Linked DNA regions of Homo sapiens: region 1 is linked to region 2. The links are contacts of gene promoters, found by promoter capture Hi-C in blood cells and fetal thymus (Javierre and others, 2016). All regions are on one chromosome and are shown on one strand. The core of a region is centred on a gene start or on the middle of the fragment in contact, and the rest is flanking DNA. Distances in the headings are between cores, read along the strand shown. Region 1 has its middle 110 kb from the start of GAD2. Region 2 holds the start of ANKRD26 (ankyrin repeat domain containing 26).

What was found. The method cuts DNA at HindIII sites, captures the fragments that hold promoters and counts their contacts. A CHiCAGO score of 5 or more calls a contact.
Region 1: a fragment that was not itself captured here is called in contact with the fragment with the promoter of ANKRD26 in region 2 in 1 of 17 cell types (neutrophils); the score reaches 6.1 in neutrophils.

The regions. Positions count from the first base shown.
Region 1 is chr10:26,323,940-26,327,371 of GRCh38, forward strand. No RefSeq gene overlaps it. Among named protein-coding and RNA genes, the nearest start is that of GAD2, 110 kb to the left of the region's middle. The HindIII fragment of the contact is 4,363 bases long and covers 1-3,432 here.
Region 2 is chr10:27,098,460-27,101,758 of GRCh38, forward strand. It overlaps ANKRD26 (ankyrin repeat domain containing 26), which reads right to left and starts at 2,035. Exons shown (of 34, transcript NM_014915.3): 1 at 1,626-2,035. The coding sequence starts at 1,867. RefSeq lists an enhancer at 1,472-1,531 and a silencer at 1,702-1,881. The HindIII fragment of the contact is 14,700 bases long and covers 1-3,299 here.

The sequences.
Region 1 (3,432 bases), core at 342-2,841, 770 kb before region 2:
AAATATTGATTGCTGGCAAAAATGAGTGCCTTTTGAGTTGTTGGAACCAAAGGAGTATTTATACCAACTTATTTGAAAATGTCTTAATCACTAAGTATATTAAATATGGGAAACTGAAAGGTTTGCTTGGATATAGTGCAGGTGGAAAACTGGAAAATATGTAAATAAATCTTAGGCTCAGAATTCACCTCAACCCTAGGGTGTCCAGATCATACAACTATGGATATAAAATCTGCCGATCATCACATTTGAAAGAAAGGGAGAAAGTAAGCGTTTTTTTAAAACTGAGTGACAAATCCAGACAGACAGAAAAAATATGACAAGAATACAATTAGCAAAAATGTAAACGAATCTGATCAAACATAGCAATTTGTTGAGAGATTTTTTTAATTTTCCACATCAAAAGTTATGTTAACATTGCCCTGAAGGGTCTCCACTAGAGATAGCTAAATTGGTAATATATGAATTCAGTAAGTACTAGACATGCCATGATGGTCTATGGCATGAATTCCTGATGTTTTTGAATCATGAACCCCTTTGAGATTGACATTAGTGCTATGAGGCCCTCTCTAAGAGAAAGGATATAAACAAAATATTTCAATGCACCAAATATTAATTTTCTTCATGTAGCTGAGATGAAAGCAAGTTTTTGGTTTTGTTTCATTTTATGATTTTCAAAACATCGGTAATAAAATGAAGACAGGTATCCTGTGCCTACTTCACAGAGTCCTAGAAGCTGAGTCATAGACCTCAGAGGGTCATAGAATCACAGGTTTAGAACTTTTGATCCTGGGATAAGTTTTGATTTGAAACTACAAAGGAGCTCAAGTTCAGAGAGAAAGACCTCCTTCATTCTCAAAGCCACCATATATATATATATATATATTTTAATGGCCAAGGACACACAGAGGAGAGGGAGCTCATTGAAGAATCAATGAATCAGATTCCTCTATTCCCTTCTGAAATTCATCTGGGCAATCTTTCTCTATGAAAACGAATACTACAATGAATATCCTTGCCTGCACACATTCACACACTGGACTAATTACTTTTTTAATGTGAACTCTTGAAGCAGATTTTTTTTTTTTTTTTTTTTTTTTTTGGAGACAGAGTCTCACTCTGCCACCCAGGCTGGAGTTCAGTGGCGCTAACACAGCTCACTGCAGCCTCAACCTCCCAGGCTCAAGTGATCCTCCCACCTCAGCCTCCTGAGTATCTGCAACCACAGATGCATGCCACCATGCCTAGCAATTTTTTTTTTTTGGAACAGAGTTTCTTGTTGCTCAGCTGGAGTGCAATGGTGTGATCTCCTCTCACTGCAACCTCTGCCTCCCAGGTCAAATGATTCTCCTGCCTCACCTGCCAAGTAGCTGGGATTACAGGCGCCCACCACTAAGTCTGGCTACTTTTGTATTTTTGGTAGAAACAGGGTTTCACCTTGTTGGCCAGCCAGGCTGGTCTCGAACTGCTGACCTCAGGTGATCCACCTGCCTCGGCCTCCCAAAGTTGTGGGATTACAGGCATGAGCCACTGCACCCGGCCTAATTTTTAAATTATTTATAGAGATGGGGAATCTCCCTATGTTGCCCAGGCTGGTCTTGAACTCCTGGGCTCAAGTGATCCTCCCACCTTGGCATCCCAAAGTGCTGGGATTACAGATGGGAGGCACCACTCCTAGCCAAAGAAGACATTTTTAATCAAAGAGTGGGTGCATCTTTAAAGTTTTTAGTACACATGGCCAAATTTCCCCACAGAAAACCTGTATCAATTTGTACTCAGATAAGCAGAGTACAAATTGATACAGATTTGAACTCTGTGCAGGGATTGCCCCCACCTCCCAAATCATCACCAACACTTCCTTGACCTTATTTTATTGCTTTTTAAAAGTTAATTCATATATCTTATTCATGTAAGTATCTGTTTATCATTCATTTAATATAAAAGAGTAAGTCTAGGAGATCCCAGGTCATGGAACCCTTGACAAACCAAGGTGGCTAGTTTTGACTTTAAAACTCCTAAGAAAAATTAATGAGACACTGGGGAGCATGGGCACTAGGAAAAAAAAACATTAAATGGGACAATCTATATTAGAAAATGAAAAATCAATACCCCAGGCAGACTAAGACTTAAACATAAGCCTAGAACTATCCTCAAAGAGATAAAGACAGGTATTGAAAACATGAGGCAAGAAGAAAAAGTTACAGAAGGGAGATCAACTGGTGACACAGGGCATGAAAAATATCATAGTTGCAGGAATGCATTCGCCAGAATAAATTAAAGAGCAAAGTGGGAATGAAGAACCAACCAGTGGCCTTGAAGGATAAAAGATAAAAGAATGAAAGAAAAGTTAAGAGACATGGATGACAGACATCAAAACTGAGTGGAAGGCACCTGAGAGTGGACAACAATGTCACTTACTCATGATGATGTGTCAAGTCTAGAATAGGAACTCAGCAAAAGCATGCTCCCAGCTACTATTTCTTTTGGGAAAGTGGAAACCACTATATATATTCATATATGTGTGTATATATATATATATTCAAATATGTATATAAATATTCAATATATAAATATATCTGTATATATATTCATTTCTGTGTTTTACTGAGTTTCCTTATAAAAGTGTTCCAGATGGTGACAAGAAATTCCAAAATATATTTTATTCAATATAATTTTCAAAACTATACTGTTTACCTCTTAAGTAAGAAAACCCAGATTGCAGGCTTCTTCTTTAATGTGCTGTCATGAAATCAAGTGTATTTTTAACATGTTCTGAACAGAGTAATTTATAAAGAGATAGGATATAATTTGAAGATTGGGATAAACATCATCCTAAAGATAAAACAAGAGAAAAGATGTCTTGTTGGCTAAATAAAAAACATTGTACAAATTGTTTCTCATTTGGTAGCATCTATTTGATGAATATAAATATGCTGGGTTTTTTCTTAAAAAATAAAAAGGACTTGCTAAAAGAAAAACTTTAGCTGAATTAAATTTAAAGCAGTTTAATTCAGCAAAGAACAATTTGCAAATCAGGCAGCCTCCTGAGCCAGAGAAGGCTCAGAGACTCCAGCAGAGACATATGGTGGAAGAATATTTATGGACAGAAAAAGGGAAGTGATGTACAGAAAATGGAAGTGAGTTACAGACACAGCCGGATTGGTTACAGCTCAGCGTTTGCCTTATTTGAACAAAGTTTGAACAGTTAGCCACTTTTGATTGGCCAAAACTTGGTGATTAGCACAGAATAGATTACAGTCTGTTTATAACTCCATTTAGATCATAGTTCACAATGTACGGAGAAATCTTTAGGCTGAACTTAAAATATATACGGAGGCAGTTTTAGGATAAACTTGATTTACCAGACTTTCCAGACAAGAGTTTTTTTTTTAAAATACTGTCTATAGGTTTAATTGATCTCTGGTTTATTCG
Region 2 (3,299 bases), core at 785-3,284:
TCACTAGAACTTTTATACATACTCATTGCAGAAATCATAAAGAAAAAAGTTTGACTTATTATACAAATGCCCAGAAATAACAAATTTTACCACTTTTTTTTTTTTTTGAGACGGAGTCTTGCTCTGTCGCCCAGGCTGGAGTGCAGTGGCGTGATCTCCGCTCACTGCAAGCTCCGCCTCCCGGGTTCACGCCATTCTCCTGCCTCAGCCTCCGGAGTAGCTGGGACTACAGGCGCCCGCCACCATGCCCGGCTGATTTTTTTGTATTTTTAGTAGAAACGGGGTTTCACTGTGTTAGCCAGGATGGTCTCGATCTCCTGACCTCGTGATCCGCCCGCCTCGGCCTCCCGAAGTGCTGGGATTACAGGCGTGAGACACCGCGCCTGGCCAAATTTTACCACGTTTTGTACATATTTTCAGCTAACACAAGACCACAGTCTGTATGTATAATCAAACTTTTTTTCTCACTTGAGATACCAAAGTATATCCTCACATGCCAATACACTTCTGTATCTATTGCCACTTTCTTTTCTTTCTTTCTTTTTTTTGAGACAGAGTTTTGCTCTTGTTGCCCAGGCTGGAGTGCAATGGCACGATCTTGGCTCACTGCAACCTCTGCCTCCCAGGTTCAAGCGATTCTCCTGCCTCAGTCTTCGGAGTAGCTGAGATTACAGGCTCCCACCACCATGCCTAGCTAATTTTTGTATTTTTAGTAGAGACGGGGTTTCACCATGTTGGCCAAGCTGGTCTCGAACTTCTGACCTCAGGATATCCGCTTGCCTTGGTCTCCTAAAATGCTGGGTTTACAGGCGCGAGCCACCACGCCTGGCCTCTACTGCCACTTTCAATGGTCACATATTATCATGCACTGACATTTATTCACAAAATCCATTCTATGGGTTCTCCTTAATACACTGCTTAAGCAATGCTGAGAAAAACAAATTACTTGTATATCTATTTCCTAAAGGCATTTTATTTCTTTTTCTTTTTGAAAGATAGGGTCTTGCTCTGTTGTCACTGACATACCTCACTGCAGCCTAGAACTCCTGGGCTCAAGTGATGCTCCTGCCTCAGCCTTCCAAGTAGCTGAGACTATTAGAGTTGGGGGGGGGGGTCTCGCTATAATGCCCAGGCTGGCCTTGAACTCCTGGCCTCAAGCAATCCTCCCGCCTCAGCCTCCCGAAGTGCTGTGATTACAGGCGCGAGCCACCGCGCCTGACGAATAACAGATTTTATAGAAATAATTTTTAACCCAGAAGTTGCTATATTATGGAAACTGCTTATCTCATTATGCACCTTTCCATAAGTGTATGACATTGTATCTTAAATGTGTACATTAAAAATAAAACGCTGTACGTGCTTTTGTTCGTTAATTCACTTTAAAATTGTCACTTAAGTGCTCTCTAAGGGATTTCGGGGGGATCGGAAACCAGCTAGAGTTCTGTTTTTGTTTTTCTGCTCAGAAAGGCGGCCTGGGCGCTGGAGCCCTGCAAGGTGTCACCGTCCCAGGGGCTACGGAGCCCGCGGGAGGCTGATCCAGGCCCTGGGTGGCTCCCACAAAAGGGGCCCCTCTTCCTGCCCGCCTACTCCAGTGGCACTCAGTCCGGGCTTGCGACGCCTATTACCTGTTCATCTTGTCTCTATCGTTCAAGCCATTCTTCCTGAGCAAAAGGATCTGCTGCACTTTCGCCACATTACCCGCGCTGGCAGCTTTGTGGATCTTGCCGAGATCTCGGTCTCGGACGTGGTAGCCGGGCTGCGAGTAGGCGCCCTCCCCCGGCTCGCCCCCGCCTCCCGCGCTGCTCCTCTGCCGCCGCGCGAAGGAGCCCAAGGGCGACTCGCCCTTCTTACTAAAAATCTTCTTCATGGCCCAGGCGACCGGGCTTCAGAGACACCTCATGTCTCTCTCGGCTCTTAACGGCCTCCGGAGCCCAACATAACAAGTCAGCCCCGGCTGGCCGCAGCCTCCCAAAGGAAACTCCGCGGTTTCCAATCTCTCCCTCCGGGTTACCAAGCAAGCGATCCCGCTAGACACAAGTGCGCATGCGCACCTCAGATGGCAAGGTCCACGCGCGTGCGCACGAAGGCCCAGTGGTCAAGTGTGCTCCATGCGCATGTGCAAGGCCCAGACCTCGCAAATCTCGGCGACTGGGACGAGCCCTGCGTTCCTGTCAAACAAATGTCGGTGGGAGTCTGGCTGAGTGTTCAGGACGTTTGCGAAAAGAAGCCTCGCGCCTGTGGGGAAGCAGCCTTTACGCATGACTGGGACTGGAGTAGCGTGGAGTTTTAAGATGCTGAAAGCCTCTTCTCCGAGAAAACTCCCCTAAGAAACTCTCTGAATCTCCCTATCTCTCAGTTTATTCCCCTTCCATGTCCCTTTGGGTGCCATCTGGTCTCCATGAGAACTTAACAGATGCAACAACAGAGGGCACAGGATTTCGGAGATCGTGGCATATGTGTCAAGTGCAGAGGGCACAGGATTTCGGAGATCGTGGCAATATGTGTCAAGTGCAAACTTACGAGGAGAAACCAATGCACATTCTCCAGAAGAAATGAGAACGCATTTCTGCATGCCTCCTTCCCCCACCCCTCTGCCTTTGGCCCAGCCTTATGTTTTATTTTTTGCTTTTGATTTTCCAAGGTTACATCTCTTTCTTCTTTTTTTTTTTTTTTTCCCCAACAGAGTCTCGCTTTGTCGCCCAGACTGTAGTGCAGTGGTGCAATCACGGCTCACTGCAGTCTCCACCTCCTGGGCTCAACGATACTCCCACCTCAGCCTCCTGAGTGAGTAGCTGAGACTACAGACGCAAGCCACCACGCCCGGCTATTTTTGCATTTTTTGTAGAGACAGGGTCTCACCATGTTGCCCAGGCTGGTCTCCGACTCCAGGGCTCAAATGATGCTCCCATCTCAGCCTCCCAAAGTGCTGGGATTACAGGTGTGAACCACCACGCCCAGCCTAGATTGAATAATTTGACAACAAATTGGAATTAGCAACGCAGACGTCAAGTGGAGTCTCAGCAGAAATTGCTGCTGGAATGCACCTCCATAGCTCTGGACAGCTCTAGGGTCCCTTGTGGAGGAGGTGGCTGGCCCCAGAACAGGCGTCTTTATTGCCAAGTGAGAAATGAGCAAAAACAAAACAACACTTCTCAGGCCTCTCCAGCTTAGCTAGATCAAATGGTTTTGATGTGGGAGAGTGGTTTCCACTATCGTCACCAAGAATTTTCCTCCTACACTACCCCAGCTAGAAAGTTATGTTGTCTCCTCAACACTCCCCAAGGTGATCTATGAAGCTA